3 separate regions of the Homo sapiens genome follow, and all the other regions are linked to region 3. The links are contacts of gene promoters, found by promoter capture Hi-C in human tissues and cell types (Jung and others, 2019). All regions are on one chromosome and are shown on one strand. Each heading gives the region's core, a stretch centred on a gene start or on the middle of the fragment in contact. The rest is flanking DNA. Distances are from core to core; before and after follow the strand shown. Region 1 has its middle 22 kb from the start of ALOX15B. Region 2 overlaps NDEL1 (nudE neurodevelopment protein 1 like 1). Region 3 holds the start of AURKB (aurora kinase B).

What was found. The method cuts DNA at HindIII sites, captures the fragments that hold promoters and counts their contacts. A contact is called where the count stands out against the background at its distance.
Region 1: a fragment that was not itself captured here is called in contact with the fragment with the promoter of AURKB in region 3 in 1 of the 25 tissues and cell types used here (liver).
Region 2: a fragment that was not itself captured here is called in contact with the fragment with the promoter of AURKB in region 3 in 1 of the 25 tissues and cell types used here (hippocampus).

The regions. Positions count from the first base shown.
Region 1 is chr17:8,059,082-8,063,758 of GRCh38, reverse strand. No RefSeq gene overlaps it. Among named protein-coding and RNA genes, the nearest start is that of ALOX15B, 22 kb to the right of the region's middle. The HindIII fragment of the contact is 4,380 bases long and covers 937-4,677 here.
Region 2 is chr17:8,442,941-8,447,668 of GRCh38, reverse strand. NDEL1 (nudE neurodevelopment protein 1 like 1) reads right to left here. Exons shown (of 9, transcript NM_030808.5): 2 at 3,312-3,409; 3 at 1,805-1,958; 4 at 767-915. The coding sequence starts at 3,397. Among named protein-coding and RNA genes, the nearest start is that of NDEL1, 9.4 kb to the right of the region's middle. RefSeq lists a silencer at 2,881-3,081. The HindIII fragment of the contact is 4,225 bases long and covers 1-3,860 here.
Region 3 is chr17:8,208,552-8,213,159 of GRCh38, reverse strand. It overlaps AURKB (aurora kinase B), which reads left to right and starts at 2,585. Exons shown (of 9, transcript NM_004217.4): 1 at 2,585-2,630; 2 at 2,911-2,983. The coding sequence starts at 2,936. RefSeq lists enhancers at 3,083-3,132, 2,694-3,353. The HindIII fragment of the contact is 18,109 bases long and covers 1-4,608 here.

The DNA of each region.
Region 1 (4,677 bases), core at 1,877-4,376, 150 kb after region 3:
AGTATCTTTATCTTCCCACTTTAATGGGTATGTTGATTCAAATCTTCTAACTAAAGTGGGGGGATTATATGGATCATTTCTATATTCGATCATAAAGGAGTCCCCAGCGCACCCAGCGTTTTGTCCGGTGCAATTTCTAGCAAAAGATTCCTTAGGAGCCCAGTCTATAATGACCCCATGAGAACCATTTCGCAAAACTACCGCATTATCTGCCACACAAACCTCCCAAGTAAGAATTTCTCATTTTTCTGACCATTCTGGATTCCTTTTAGGGCAAGCCAATCCCTTAGGCTTGCAATTTTGGACTTTTATATTTGACTGATAATAACTATCCCCTTAAGTTTTTACAGTCCTGATGGGTTGAAAAGACATTCCACTCACTACGTGATAACTAGGTTGAGAACGATTATGAGGAGGTACGTAGACCATCCAACTTTGTATTTGTAATGGCAAACATCCAGGAGCAATTCCTAAACAAACTGGAGGGTATTTATACCCAATTATCCCATTCATTAACATGCCCTCCTCCTCAGGCTATGCAGGACAGCTATCATAAGTCGGCCCAGGCATCCAGATACTACCATTTGTATAAACTTCAGTAGGGGAGTCCATCCAAGTGACAGGTCTAATCAAAGGAGGAAATGGAACATAAGCCCAGTAGTAAAATTTTGCTTAGCTGAAACAGCAGAGAGACTTACCGCCGTGGTGATTACCATCAAGGCAGCCAAGATCATATTACCCGGTGTAATCGCTAGTTGTTTCTCCTTTAGGGTGTCCTCTGCCAATTGAGTCAGCTTCTTTATCTGTCCCCATGTCAGTGGTGTAGCCTAGCGAGTCTTCTCCGTCTTCTGTTTTTTCTCCGAGACGCTCAGCTTCACCATTTTCCTCAGCTCCCGAAAAGACAGGTCGAAGGGACCGGTCTTCTTTCTCTTTTGATTCTTTCCTTTTTTCTGACCGGTCGGTGTAGGGTTCATTGTAGAATTTTAAATGTCTATTGGGTATCCAAATGAGTGTTTGATTGTCTCTTGGTGAAACACAAGGAAAACCCCTCCCCCAAGTAATACTTTTTCTTAATTTCCAAGTTTTGGTTCTGGTATCCTTCCACCAGACCATTTTTCCTTTCTGTGGCACACCCATGACTGCAAAACAAGATAATAAATGTCGTTTTACGTGAGCTGTGCTTTCTCCAGTTTGGCGTGTAGCCCAGATAAACCGAGAAAAAGTATTAACAGTAACATGTACGAAAGAAAGTTTTCCGAATGATGGGACATGAGTCATGTCCATTTGCCACACTGCATTTGGTTGAAGCCCCCTAGGGTTACCTTCAGGTTTTTGGGTGGGTAGCTGTAGCACTTGGCACTGAGGATGTTGTACTATATTTTTAGCTTGTTTCCAGGTAAATGAATATTTATTTTTTAATCCAGCAGCATTTACATGAATTAGGGAATGGAAGTTTTGAGCTTTTGTTCGCGTCTGTGTGAAGAGACCACCAAACAGGCTTTGTGTGAGCAACAAGGCTGTTTATTTCACCTGGGTGCAGGTGGGCTGAGTCCGAAAAGAGAGTCAGCGAAGGGAGATAGGGGTGGGGCCCTTTTATAGGATTTGGGTAGGTAGTGGAAAATTACAGTCAAAGGGGGTTGTTCTCTGGCGGGCAGGGGCGGGGGTTGCAAGGTGCTCAGTAGGGGAGCTTCTGAGCCAGGAGAAGGAATTTCACAAGGTAATGTCATCAGTTAAGGCAGAAACCAGCCATTTTCACGTCTTTTGTGATTCTTCAGTTGCTTCAGGGCATCTGGATGTATACGTGCAGGTCATAGGGGATATGATGGCTTAGCTTGGGCTCAGAGGCCGGACACTGTTAGAACAGGCGTCACTAATAAATTTGCTTGATTATTTAATAGGGTTAAAGGTCCTGGTAAGTTTGTGTGAGCCTAAATATGTGTAATATAAAAGGGAAAATTTTGAGTCCTAACTGCTTGTTGAAGTGAACTAAACAAGAAATTTAACTGATCATCAGAAATATGTTTTACTAAAGCTGTTTTTACCATTTTGGCAGCTTGGAATACGTAAGCAGAGTCAGAGATTATATTAACAGGTTGATTACAATCTTCCAATACAGATATAACTGCTTGTAGCTCAGCTCTTTGTGCAGAATGAAACTGAGTTTGAATAATCTTTTCTTCCGGTCCTGTATAAGCTGCTTTTCCATTCTGAGAGCCATCAGTAAAGATAGTTACGGCTCCCTCCAAAGGAATGGAACTAGTTATTTTGGGTAAAATTTAGGTAGTCAATTTTTAGGAACTGAAACATTTTAGTTTTAGGGTAATGAATATCTATACTGCCAACAAAATCAGCCAGATTTGACTGCCATTCTGACGAATTAATAAAGGCTTGTCGAACCTGTGCTTTGTTTAAAGGAACTACATTTTTATCTCGATCGGTGCCAATGAGTCTGACTATTCTCAGTTGTATTTGGCCTATAAGAATAGCTATTTGATCTAAATAAATTGAGAAAGTTCTAGTCGTACTGTGCGTTAAAAAGGACAATTTAACTAAGTCAACATTTTGAACAATCACTCCTATAGGAGAATGGAGAGTAGGGAACACTAAGAGCTGTAATGGAACACTAGGATCTCTTCTACGGACTTGAGCACTTTGAATTTTTTCCTCAATCATTTGTAACTCTTCAGCTGCAGCAGGCATCAGAGTTCTTTTGCTACATGAATTTGGATCCCATCTCAGCAAAGCAAACAGTTTAGACATTGCTTAGGTGGGAATTCCTAAAGTAGGTCTTATCCAATTAACGTCCCCTAATAATTTTTGGAAATCATTTAAGGTTTTTAAGGACTCTTTACGAATTTCCTCCTTTTGAGGCTTTACTGTTTTCTCCTGTACCCTCATTCCCAGGTAATGATAGGGTGTAGTATGGATTTTATCTGGTGCTATAGCGAGACCTGTAAGTCCCACCACTTCTTGTAGCCTAGCAAAACACTCAATCCGTCTGTCCCTGCTTGCAGCAGCACATAAAATGTCATCAACATAATGAATAATATAGCAATCAGGAAACTGATCCCTGACAAGCTGAATAACCTTTCCAACAAAAGTTTGACTATTTAACATTCCTTGGGGTACAACTTTCCATCGATATATAGTAGCTGGTTCCTTGTTATTCATGGCAGGTATTGTAAATGCAAATTTCTCAAAATCCTGAGGAGCCAAAGGAATAGTAAAAAACACAATCTTTTAGATCAATTATTACCATCGGCCATTCTTTTGGGATCATGGCCGGAGATGGCAACCCTGGTTGGAGAGCTCCCATCGGTTGAATGGCTGCGTTAACCGCTCATAAGTCGGTCAATATGCGCCATCTAGCGAATTTTTTCTGAATTACAAAAACTGGGGCGTTCCATGGTGAAAAAGATGGTTCAATATGTCCTTTGTCTAATTGTTCTTTTGCCAATGAATGTAATGCCTCCAGTTTTTGTTGAGGAAGCGGCCACTGATCAACCCAAACAGGTTTTGGAGTTTTCCGTTTTAATGCAATGGGCTTTGGAGGCTCAACAGTGGCCGCACCTAAGAAGGATATCCAATTCCTCTTCGGTCAAATTTAACTGAGACCTCAATCGGCTGGGTTATTCCGTCCTCATTTTTTTCCTAATCCTTTCCCAGGAATATATCCCATTTTGGTCATCATTCTTTGGCTCTCAGGACTGTAAATTGCAGGGGGAATGGTGATTTCTGTACCCCATTGCTGTAACAAATCTCTCCCCTACAAATTAATGGGAATGAAAGTAATCATAGGTTGGATGGTGACTTCCTGCCCATCTGGTCTTAAACGATGTAAAATTGTAGCACTTTGATAGACTTCAGATGCTGTGCCTACTCCAATCAAGCCCATAGAAGCCTTTTGTCGGGGCCACGCTTTTGGCCACTGATTTAGAGCTATAATTGAAATATTAGCACCTGTGTCTACCAGTCCTTCAAACTGTTTTCCCTGAATCATTGTGCACACAGGTCTGTTTTTAGAAGCTTGATTTACTCAATAGGCTGCTTTTCCTTCACTGTCAGTACTGCCAAAACCACTTTCTCTTTTTACTGTACTTTTTTCTACTATTACATAAGGTAATAACAACAGCTGAGCAATTCTATCTCCTGGGTTTGCACTCCAAGGAATACTGGAACTAATAACCAATTGAATTTCTCCCACAAAATCTGAATCAATCAGCCCAGTATGAATCTGAACTCCTTTTAAGTTTAGACTAGATGTTCCTAAAACAAGTCCAACTGTCCATCAGGTAAAGGGCCAAATACTCCAGTGGGGACTTTTTGAGGGGATTTCCCTGGAAGCAGAGAGATAGCTTTTGGGAAACATAAATCTAAGCCTGTACTCCCTGCTGTAGCTGGCGCCAATTGTGTTACTGTGGTGGTTGGGCAAGAGACAATGATGGTGGTTGGACTAGAGGCAATGACCGACTGAGGGACCAACTGCTGGAGTGAGAATGCCCCCGTTTGGAGCGGGGCCTGAGGCTGGCCCCTCTTCCTGTTTCCCGACTGCGGTTGTAACGGTTGGCCATTTTTGTCAAATTTGAAGTGACACTGATTAGCCCAATGTTTACCCTTCTGGCACCTGGGACATAAGCCAGGTGGTTCTTTTATTTGATTATATCTTGCCTGTTTGTT
Region 2 (4,728 bases), core at 499-2,998, 240 kb before region 3:
GTTCAGAAATTTGAACTGAAATCAACATTTTAAGAAAATTCATCAGTCAGTATTAAAAGAGAATAAAAAGGAACAGAAATATAAAGATATATCAGCTAGAGGATAACTACAGAATCCAGGTATAAGATATGAGGACCTACAGGAAGTATGGAAGTGTTAAGAGCACAGAGGGAAGATGGGGGAATGCATGAGACAGTTTAAAAAATAAATAAATACACAAAACCTAGGCTGGGTGCAGTGGCTCATGCCTATAATCCCAGCACTTTGGGAGGCCAAGGTGGGCAGATCACTTGATGGCAGGAATTCAAGACCAGCCTGGCCAACATGGCAAAACCCCGTCTCTACTAAAAATACAAAAATTAGCTGGGTGTGGTGGCACATGCCTATAATCCCAGCTACTTGGAAGGCTGAGGCACAAGAATCGCTTGAATCTGGGAGGCAGAGGTTGCAGTGAGCCGAGATCATGCCACTGCACTCCAGACTGGGCGACAATGTGAGACCCTGTCTCAAAAAACAAAACAAAACCAATAGGATCAACCACAGTATATGAAAGAAGGAAAAAAGAAAAATTGAAAGAGAAAGCTTTGAAGGGCGTTATCTGGGAGATGAGGATTTGGGGTTCCCTTCCGTCCGATGAGTTACAGGTGACATGAAACACCAACAGGAAATGTTCTGGGACTAAGATCTAGGGGAAGAGCCTAATAAAGATTTTAATCACTAATTACCAAGGTGGTTTTTTTCTAACAAAATGCAGTCATTCGTTTACCTTTTGGCTCGCTCCAGGTCGTCGTTGGCCTGCTCCAGCTCTCTCACATACTTATGCAACTGCTCCTTAATGGCCCGAGTCTGACTTAAATCATCTTCTAACACTGAGACCTGCTTATAGCTCTGTGCATATTGATGCTCTAGCTTCTCCTGAGGGCATCAGTATAGGAAAGTACATGTCATTAATATACAGTTCTCTTTACTAAAGAGGTAACTCAAGTTAAAAGGGTGGGGGGGAACCCAAGGAATTTACCCACACTCTTGTAACAATTACTTTAAAAACAACTAAATGACACATTCATTCTAAGTGCCTAAACTCATGTTAAATTTTGTCAACCATTCTCCTCTCAGAAAGAAACCCAATAACAATCTCTCTGAAAAGAACTAATATAAAAAATCCTTGCCTCAAAATCCGCAAACTTGTTAAGGAAACCTCTGGATTTTCAGGCTAAATGCGGCCCAGGGTAAGCACAGAGTTCACATTCCCTACCTTTCACCTGCCCATCCAACCTTCCCAGAACCCACCCACTCCCCAGACACTAAATACCCTCAAGCATGTGGCTACAGTAGATGGTAAAGGGCAGAGAAAGGGGTGAATCCTTTTGCTCCTGAAAATTCCTTTTTAGAAGGGAAATTTTTAACCCTAACTAAACTCCAAAACTGAAAGGGCTATGAACAATAATGAAATAAATGCATATTCCCTATCAATATAATTGTAAACATACTGCAGAATGAGGCAACCTATCTGTCAAAACAAATAATCAGGCAGCTTTTGAAAATTATAGGAACTATAATATAATATAGCTAGGAACATTATAGCTAGAAAAGTGACAACTACAAAGTTTCTAAGTGAACTCCTAAACTCTAAACCACCTTTTCCCCTGGTTCCGTGAAAGAAAACATTTTATTCAAAAATTCACTTTAAGCGTTTTTTTCAAACTATTTTTTGTCGCCAGCTGCTCTTAAGCACCTGAAAAACATATTTCTCATTTTAATAAAACTCAACACATTAGACCCCAGCGTCTACTGCTGCAATTACCTTTAATGCCTCCACTTCATATTTCAGTCTTTGGTTATCAGCCTGCAAGTCTCTATTTCTTTGTTCAGCCTGTACTAATTGTGCCTCCAACTCTGCTTCTAATTCTCTGCTTCCTTCCTGGAATTCAACTAGCTCATCCCGAGCTTCCTGGAAGCTAATCAGAAACAAAGTGGGAAAGACGAGTTACACTAAGAACCACAAGGATTGTCTTGGAGGTGATTATAGAGCAATTCGATAATTTTTGCTTGAATGCTAATGCTCTCATAAAATATACTAAAGACAATCTGTTTTGCATCTCTTACTGTATATATTCAGGGTTCAATGAAAACGACAAGCCCAAAAAGGAGCCACAAGTCAGTGATTACAATATTTATGAAAAGTAAGGCTACGTGGCTCAATACCATTAGCTTCTTCCACCACAGAACTCAGATGCGAGAAAAATGCATTTTTACTTTCATTAAAGTAACAAATTTGGCATTTCCTTCTACCATATTCAACAGAAATCACACATATTTTCACATCACAATAGAATCGTTGCATGTATCTCTAAATATATTTATTTTCATGACTATTTCAAAATTAGGTAGTTATTACATTCACTTCTGTATCTTTTTTTATTTAATGCATTAATAGAGAAGTACATGTTACTATGCCATAAATTAGTTTAATATTTAGATAACTTTTTTCAATATAATTGATTTTCTTTGTAATTCTATTATTCTATGCATTTAAAAATATTATGCTGAGGAGTCCACAGGCTACCCCAGCCCATTAAGACATCTATGACACAGAAAAAGATTAAGAACCCTGCCATAGATACACACCTTTCATATCCACTGGCACAATAGAATAACTGACTTCGGTGATAATAATGAAAGGGCAGTAAAAGGTTTGATAAGACTTAGTAAACTCTGTTAACCAAAATAGGAAAATGTATCAATATTTTATTTAGCAAGATCCCATTTTTAAAAAAGAAATTTGAGACAAGTTTTGTTGCTTAAAAGGTTGTTGCCTGAAAGTTCTCCCAACCAAATAACTGAAATTTTATAAAACGTTCCATGCCCCTGAAGCTTCTCCCCCTCCCTCAAAGCTTTGCTGGCTCCAGACACTGATCATGCTTGCCTGAGGAGAACGTAAAGTCTGTTCTATGGAGCCCCAGACAGCTTATCAGAATCTCCAAATGACCAAAATGATGAGGCAGAATCAGTGCATGCAAAACGGGCCAAAGATGGCCCCGCCTACTAAAAAGCATAGAACAGGTAACAATCAGAAGAAATCATAAATGACAGTTTTCCTACTATTTTAATAATTTGAACAATATAAAGACTTATGGCATGTTTACACTATTTAAATACAACCCATGTGGTGACTGTTTGTAGAATCTCAATCCTAGAATCCTAAATCTGCAATTCTAAATTTAGCTTTATGTTAAAAAGAAAAATGCACAAACAAGACACGGTGTATTCCAAATGCCCTCCCCTACTTTTAGTGTGCTTTCCAACATTACCTTTGCTTATACTTCAAGGAAAGTTCCTTCCAATAAGCAGTTTCCTCCTTTAAACTTGAAAAATCTGGTATATCTTCACCATCCATGATCAAGAAAGCCTGTGAAATATTAAAGACAAACTTAACAAATTAGAGAACAGAGAAATCTAAGCACAAGCATAAAATCTGGGACAACACTGAACTGCAGCATTTTGGAGGGAATAAAACATGAGAGATTCCAGTGGTTAACTCTCTTCAAACTCAGGCACGTCAATCACTCCACTGCTCCACTCTCAGGGACCACCAATATTGTGAATGAGATCATGACAAAGGTCCTTTGATACAAAGCGACAGGAGGCACTTTTGGTTGCAGCATAGGCGCTGGGTGACTTGGGCCCACAGAATCATCCTGCACACAGAGTTGCAGCAGTTGGTTTAAGGCCACGTGGTCTTCTGCGAATCGGGAGACAGAAACAAGCTTATTGTCAGAGATGCTGCTACCGCATGCATGCTGCCCTTCCCAGGTATACAACTGCTTCAAAACATCTGCTTGGAACATTTTATGCCAGGTGACCCTACTAGAAAATCAGGCACCACATTCCCAATAATTTACTATTATCAAATCTCTAAAAACCTCCTGTTAATCATCTTTTAAGTCCAAAGCTTCCTTCCAAAAGCCCACTAATCTCCAACTTCAATGATCTCTCTCTCTCATCCTGGTTCTTCTCTCCCAAGGCATTCAGAGAGGAGAAAAAAAGCGATTTAATTAACTAACATTTGGACTGGCTACCTACAACTCCCAACTGATCGTCAGGCCCACTCTAGAGGCATGCCTACTGCTTCCTAGCACCCCCTCCCCAGGCATCCCACTCTATATTCTGGCAGTACTGTTCGAAACTGTCTTAACACACCAGGCTCTTTCAGGCATGGAAAACTACTCCAGGTTTTCTCTACCTGGAGTGGCTCCCCTAAATAGGAAAACTACTATTTATCCTTAAAACCTAATTGTCATCTTTTCCAGAGAGGTTTTCTTGCCCTCAACTGGACAGCATTAAAATCTCTTGCATTCTTTGCTACCTCTGTACCCCACACATGCTTTCACTGATATTATTACCACAGGGCAATGCATTTGCTTACACCTTTGTGTTGCCTGTTAGGCTGGCTTACTTATTTCCGTCTCAGCCCAATGCCTGCACAATAGTGGATACTCAATGATATTTACTGAATTAAACCATAATTGATTCAACCTATTCCATACTAGGCAGCAAGAACTCAAGACCAGCTTTAAAAGTAAATTAATAGGCTAGGTGTGGTGGCTCATGCCTGTAATCCCAGCACTTTGGGAGGCCGAGGCGGGCGGATCACGAGGTCAGGAGATTGAGACCATCCTGGCTAACACGGTGAAACCCCATCTCTGCTAAAAATACAAAAAATTAGCC
Region 3 (4,608 bases), core at 1,336-3,835:
TTTTTAGTAGAGACGGGTTTCACTGTGTTGGCCAGGCTGGTCTCGAACTCCTGACCTCGTGATCCACCCACTTCAGCCTGCCAAAGTGCTGGGATTACAAGCATGAGCCACCGCGCCTGGCCAGAACTGGCTAATTTTTTGTATTTTAGTAGTAACGGGGTTTCACCATGTTGCCCAGGGTGGTCTTGAACTCCTGAGCTCAGGCAATCCACCCTCCTTGGGCTCCTGAAGTGCTAGGATTACAGACATGAGCCACTGCGCCCTGCCCATTTTTTGTTTTTATTGAGACAGGGTGTCACTCTAATGTCGGGGCTGGAGTGCAGTGGTGCAATCATGGCTCACCACAGCCTTGACCTCCGGCCTCTGCTGATCCTCCTGCCTCAGCCTATCAAGTAGCTTGGACTAGAGGCACACACTACCATACTGGCTAATTTTTTTTTTTTTTATTTGTAGAGACGGGGTTTCACAGGTTGCCCAGGCTGATCTTAAACTCCTGGGCTCAAGTGATACAGCCGCCTTAGCCTCCCAAAGTGCTGGGATTACAGGCGTGAGCCGCCAAGCCTAGCCATGGTTTGTTTTTTCTACACAATATGCTTAAACAGCAAATAGCATTTAGAATGCATTCAGAAAGGATATTAGCTGAATAATAATCTTCTCTATTGTTCATGTAAGAAAAGTGCTAACGTAGGCATGTAGAGGCTCAACAATGTCATCAAGTCCTGAAGTTCTTTCCAGGCCTCTCTTCTGCCTTCTGCAATGTTAGGCTTCAATGTCAAGCTGCTTCCTTCAGTAGCACTAGAAGCAGCAATGAGGGCTGCATGCTTCCCTGCTCACTTCCAGAAATCTCTTCCTCCATACCTTGCCCTATACATCTTTTCATCTATATCATTTGTAATACACTTTATGATAAACCAGTAAACGTTAAGTGTTTCCTTGAGCTGCCCAGCATTCTGAGCAAGAAACTGATTCCCACTAGCTGGCCCACTTAAATCACAGGCTTATGCCTGATCCAATAACCATAATCTGGAATAAAAGGTATTGATTAGTATAAGTTAATTGGGGCTCATTTCTGGACCTGCAATGAAGTCAGTTTCCTTCTCAAATCCTCAAAACTCTAAGTGCTTTCAGAAGTGGGAATAAAGCTGGGCGCAGTGGCTCACGCCTGTAATCCAAGCACTTTGGGAGACCAAGGCGGGCGGATCACCTGAGGCCAGCCTGAGCAATGTGATGAAACCCCGTCTCTACTAAAAATACAAAAATTAGCCGGGCGTGGTCACATGCACCTATAATCCTAGGTACTCGGGAGGCTGAGACAGGAGAATCAGTTGCACCCTGGAGGAGGAGGTTGTGGTGAGCTGAGATTGTGCCATTGCACTCCAGCCTGGGCAACACAGCGAATCTTCATCTCAAAAAAAAAAAAAAAAGTGAGATTTAAATAGGTCTTCATCAACCTAGGGATTTGGGGTTGTCAGCAACAGAAACTACTACAGAAACCGACTGCATAGACTGGAGAGACAGGTGGTCCCCTAAAGGAAAAATAGAGTGTTAGAAGAAAGGAGAAGAGTGCTGGACAGTACATACTTAATAAATATCCACTGGTTATTTCATAGAAGGCCCAAAAATGTATTTATTTAACCCAGTAATGAAATCTGAGGGTTAGGAAGAGCAGAAAAGAAGGAAGTGTGGCAGGAAGGAGGAAAAATGAAAGTGGGCCCAAACAACACGGCAGCTAACAGAGATCTTGCAACGAAAGGTCTATTGGTGGAAAAACTCCTCCCAGGAATGTCAGAACTTTTAAGAACGACATAGTAATGACACAAGAATAAACACACAGGCAAATGAGCAAACAACGGAATACAAAGTCTAGAAATAGACACAAGTAAATATGCTAACATTATATATCAAGGGCAGCATTTAAATTCTGTTGGGGCAGTTTGTTTAACAAATGGTGTTGACATAACTGGCGCTCCATCGGGCAGAGAAGTTAGACCCCAGCTCATACATGCATAAGGATAAACTCCAGTTACATTAAAGATTTAATTTTTTTTATAAAAAGAAGAAGGCCGGGCACGGTGGCTCACGCCTGTAATCCCAGCATTTTGGGAAGCCGAGGCGGGTGGATCACCTGAGGACAGGAGTTCGAGACCAGATTGGCCAACACAGCGAAAACCCGTCTCTAATAAAAATACAAAAATTAGCCAGGCGTGGTGGCGGGCGCTTGTAATCCCAGCTACTCGGGTGGCTGAGGCACGAGAATCGCTTGAACCCGGGAGGCAGAGGTTGCAGCAAGCCCAGATAGCACCATTATACTCCAGCCTGAGCGACAGAGAGAGACCTGTCTCAAAAAAGGAAAAAAAAAAAGAAAAGAAAAAGCAAGATAATTCACTGGGGGAATTTGGGGAAACTTTCCTAAACTGGAAGCCAAGCGTGAGCCCTTCTCATTCCGCCTCTTCCATTGGGTTCCCATGACTTACGTCACAGGACATCGAGCCAATGGGAACTAGGCATGGGCGACGAGCTTGCCCAATGGGGCCGGGGCGGGAGATTTGAAAAGTCCTTGGCCAGGGCGCGGCGTGGCAGATTCAGTTGTTTGCGGGCGGCCGGGAGAGTAGCAGTGCCTTGGACCCCAGGTGAGCTGGCCTCCTGTCGCAGGCCTTGCGCCGGGAGTGGGCAGATGATCAGGTAGATCAGAGGGTCCGTTGGGCTGGCCTGCGCGCACGCCGCAGGGCTGGAAGGAGGTAGGGACGATAGCAGGGCGGGGGCGGTGAGACCAGCGCCCAGATTGGGGCTAGTGTGCTGACCTGCTCCCTTTTACCAGCTCGGGCTAGCGCTTCCGGCTCGATCGGTCCAACCCCTCCCTCTCTCTCTCTTTTTCTCTGCTTCTCACGGCTGTTTCCCTTCTCCGCCCAGCTCTCCTCCCCCTTTCTCTCTAAGGATGGCCCAGAAGGAGAACTCCTACCCCTGGCCCTACGGCCGACAGACGGTAAGGCCCTTCCCTCCGTCCCTGCGCCCCCATGACCCCGCATGGCGAGTTCCTGCTGGGAAACTTGAGATCCTGCAATGAGCAATCCTTTAAGCACTTTCTTCCCCGTTATGCTCCAAAGTACGGGTCCCAAGTTTGACGACAGAACCCGCTCTGGTCATTTGTAGCCACATCCTGTCAGGTGCTGCCAACGTGAATCTGACCAGCCAGTGACTCCCAGCTGGTGAGGACCTCTGCAGGGCTCGTCACATACAAATGATATCTGGGACTGAGCAGGCAGGGCCTGGCCTTCAGGCCATGATTCCCAATCCATATCCTGAAAAAAAAAAAACTAGACAGCAAATAGAAATAGACTCTAAAAGGATATAAAGTTACAGTTTAAAAGGCCCAGGGCAAGTCTAAATTACAATTTGGAATTAATGACTAAATTGAGGTAAGAATCTAAATGGATCTAAATTGACTTATTTCCCAATGGTCCAGACAGATTTCATTGAAGGGCCTCCTCTCTGATTTGAAATGCCACCTTTATTATATATATAAATTCCCACATATATGTGGGTCTATTTCTGGACTGTATTTTATTCAACTTGCTTATTTGTAGATTGGTACCAATATCACTATTTGGGGCCTAGGGGCTTTCTTCTCTTGGCTGCAGAAGAAGGAAGGGGCCCTGCACAGGCTTTGCTCCCTGTTTTTGGAGCTCTTGCTTCCTGGAGAGTCTGTCTGTTCCCTTGTACATCAGCTCCCTCCCTCATGGAGCACTGAGTGAGGCTGTCAGGAATGGAGTCTGAATGAGAAACCATTGTCACTTTTACCTTAGTCACTCCTAAAAGAAAATGTACCTATTATTTTGAGAGTTGAAAGTGAGGCCAGGTAGGTGGCTCACGCCTGTAATCCCAGCACTGGGAGGCTGAGGCAGGTGGATCACCTGAGGTCAGGAGTTCGAGACCAGCCTGGCCAACATGGTAAAACCCCGTCTCTACTAAAAATACAAAAATTAGCCAGGCATGTGCCTGTAATCCCACCTACTCAGGAGGCCGAGGCAGGAGAATTGCCTGAACCTGGGAGGTGGAGGTTGCAGTGAGCCGAGATGGCACCATTGCACTCCAGCCTGGGTAATAGAGCGAGACTCCATCTCAAAAAAAAAAAAAAATGAAGAAGTTGAAAGTGAGAAGTGGTCCAGGGCCATCAGGGTAGCTCTTAGTGTCCTTAAAGCCTGTTCTTGCAAAAGTGTAAATCCTGGTTATTGCTATAACATTCAAGGCCTCAAGCATCTTATCTAAGCCTTAATAAACTAAGCTTTTTAGGAGACTTTGAGAATACCTCTGTGCTAAACCCCTTGAATTGTGGGTGTTCATTGACGCAGCTCTCTACTGTGGTGTAAGTGAGGGGCTGGATGAATGACTGTGTTGTTATGGACAGGACTTATACAGGTTGAACAGCTTCATGCCTGAAAAGTGTGGGCCAGGGCCAAAGAAGTGAAATGTTAGGTGTTGGTGTGAGTCCTTTGCCCCTTATCTTAGGCCTACTTAGGTTATTTATTTTTTATTTATTTATTTATTTATTTATTTATTTATTTATTTTTTGAGACGGAGCCTCACTGTGTTGCCCAGGCTGGAGTGCAA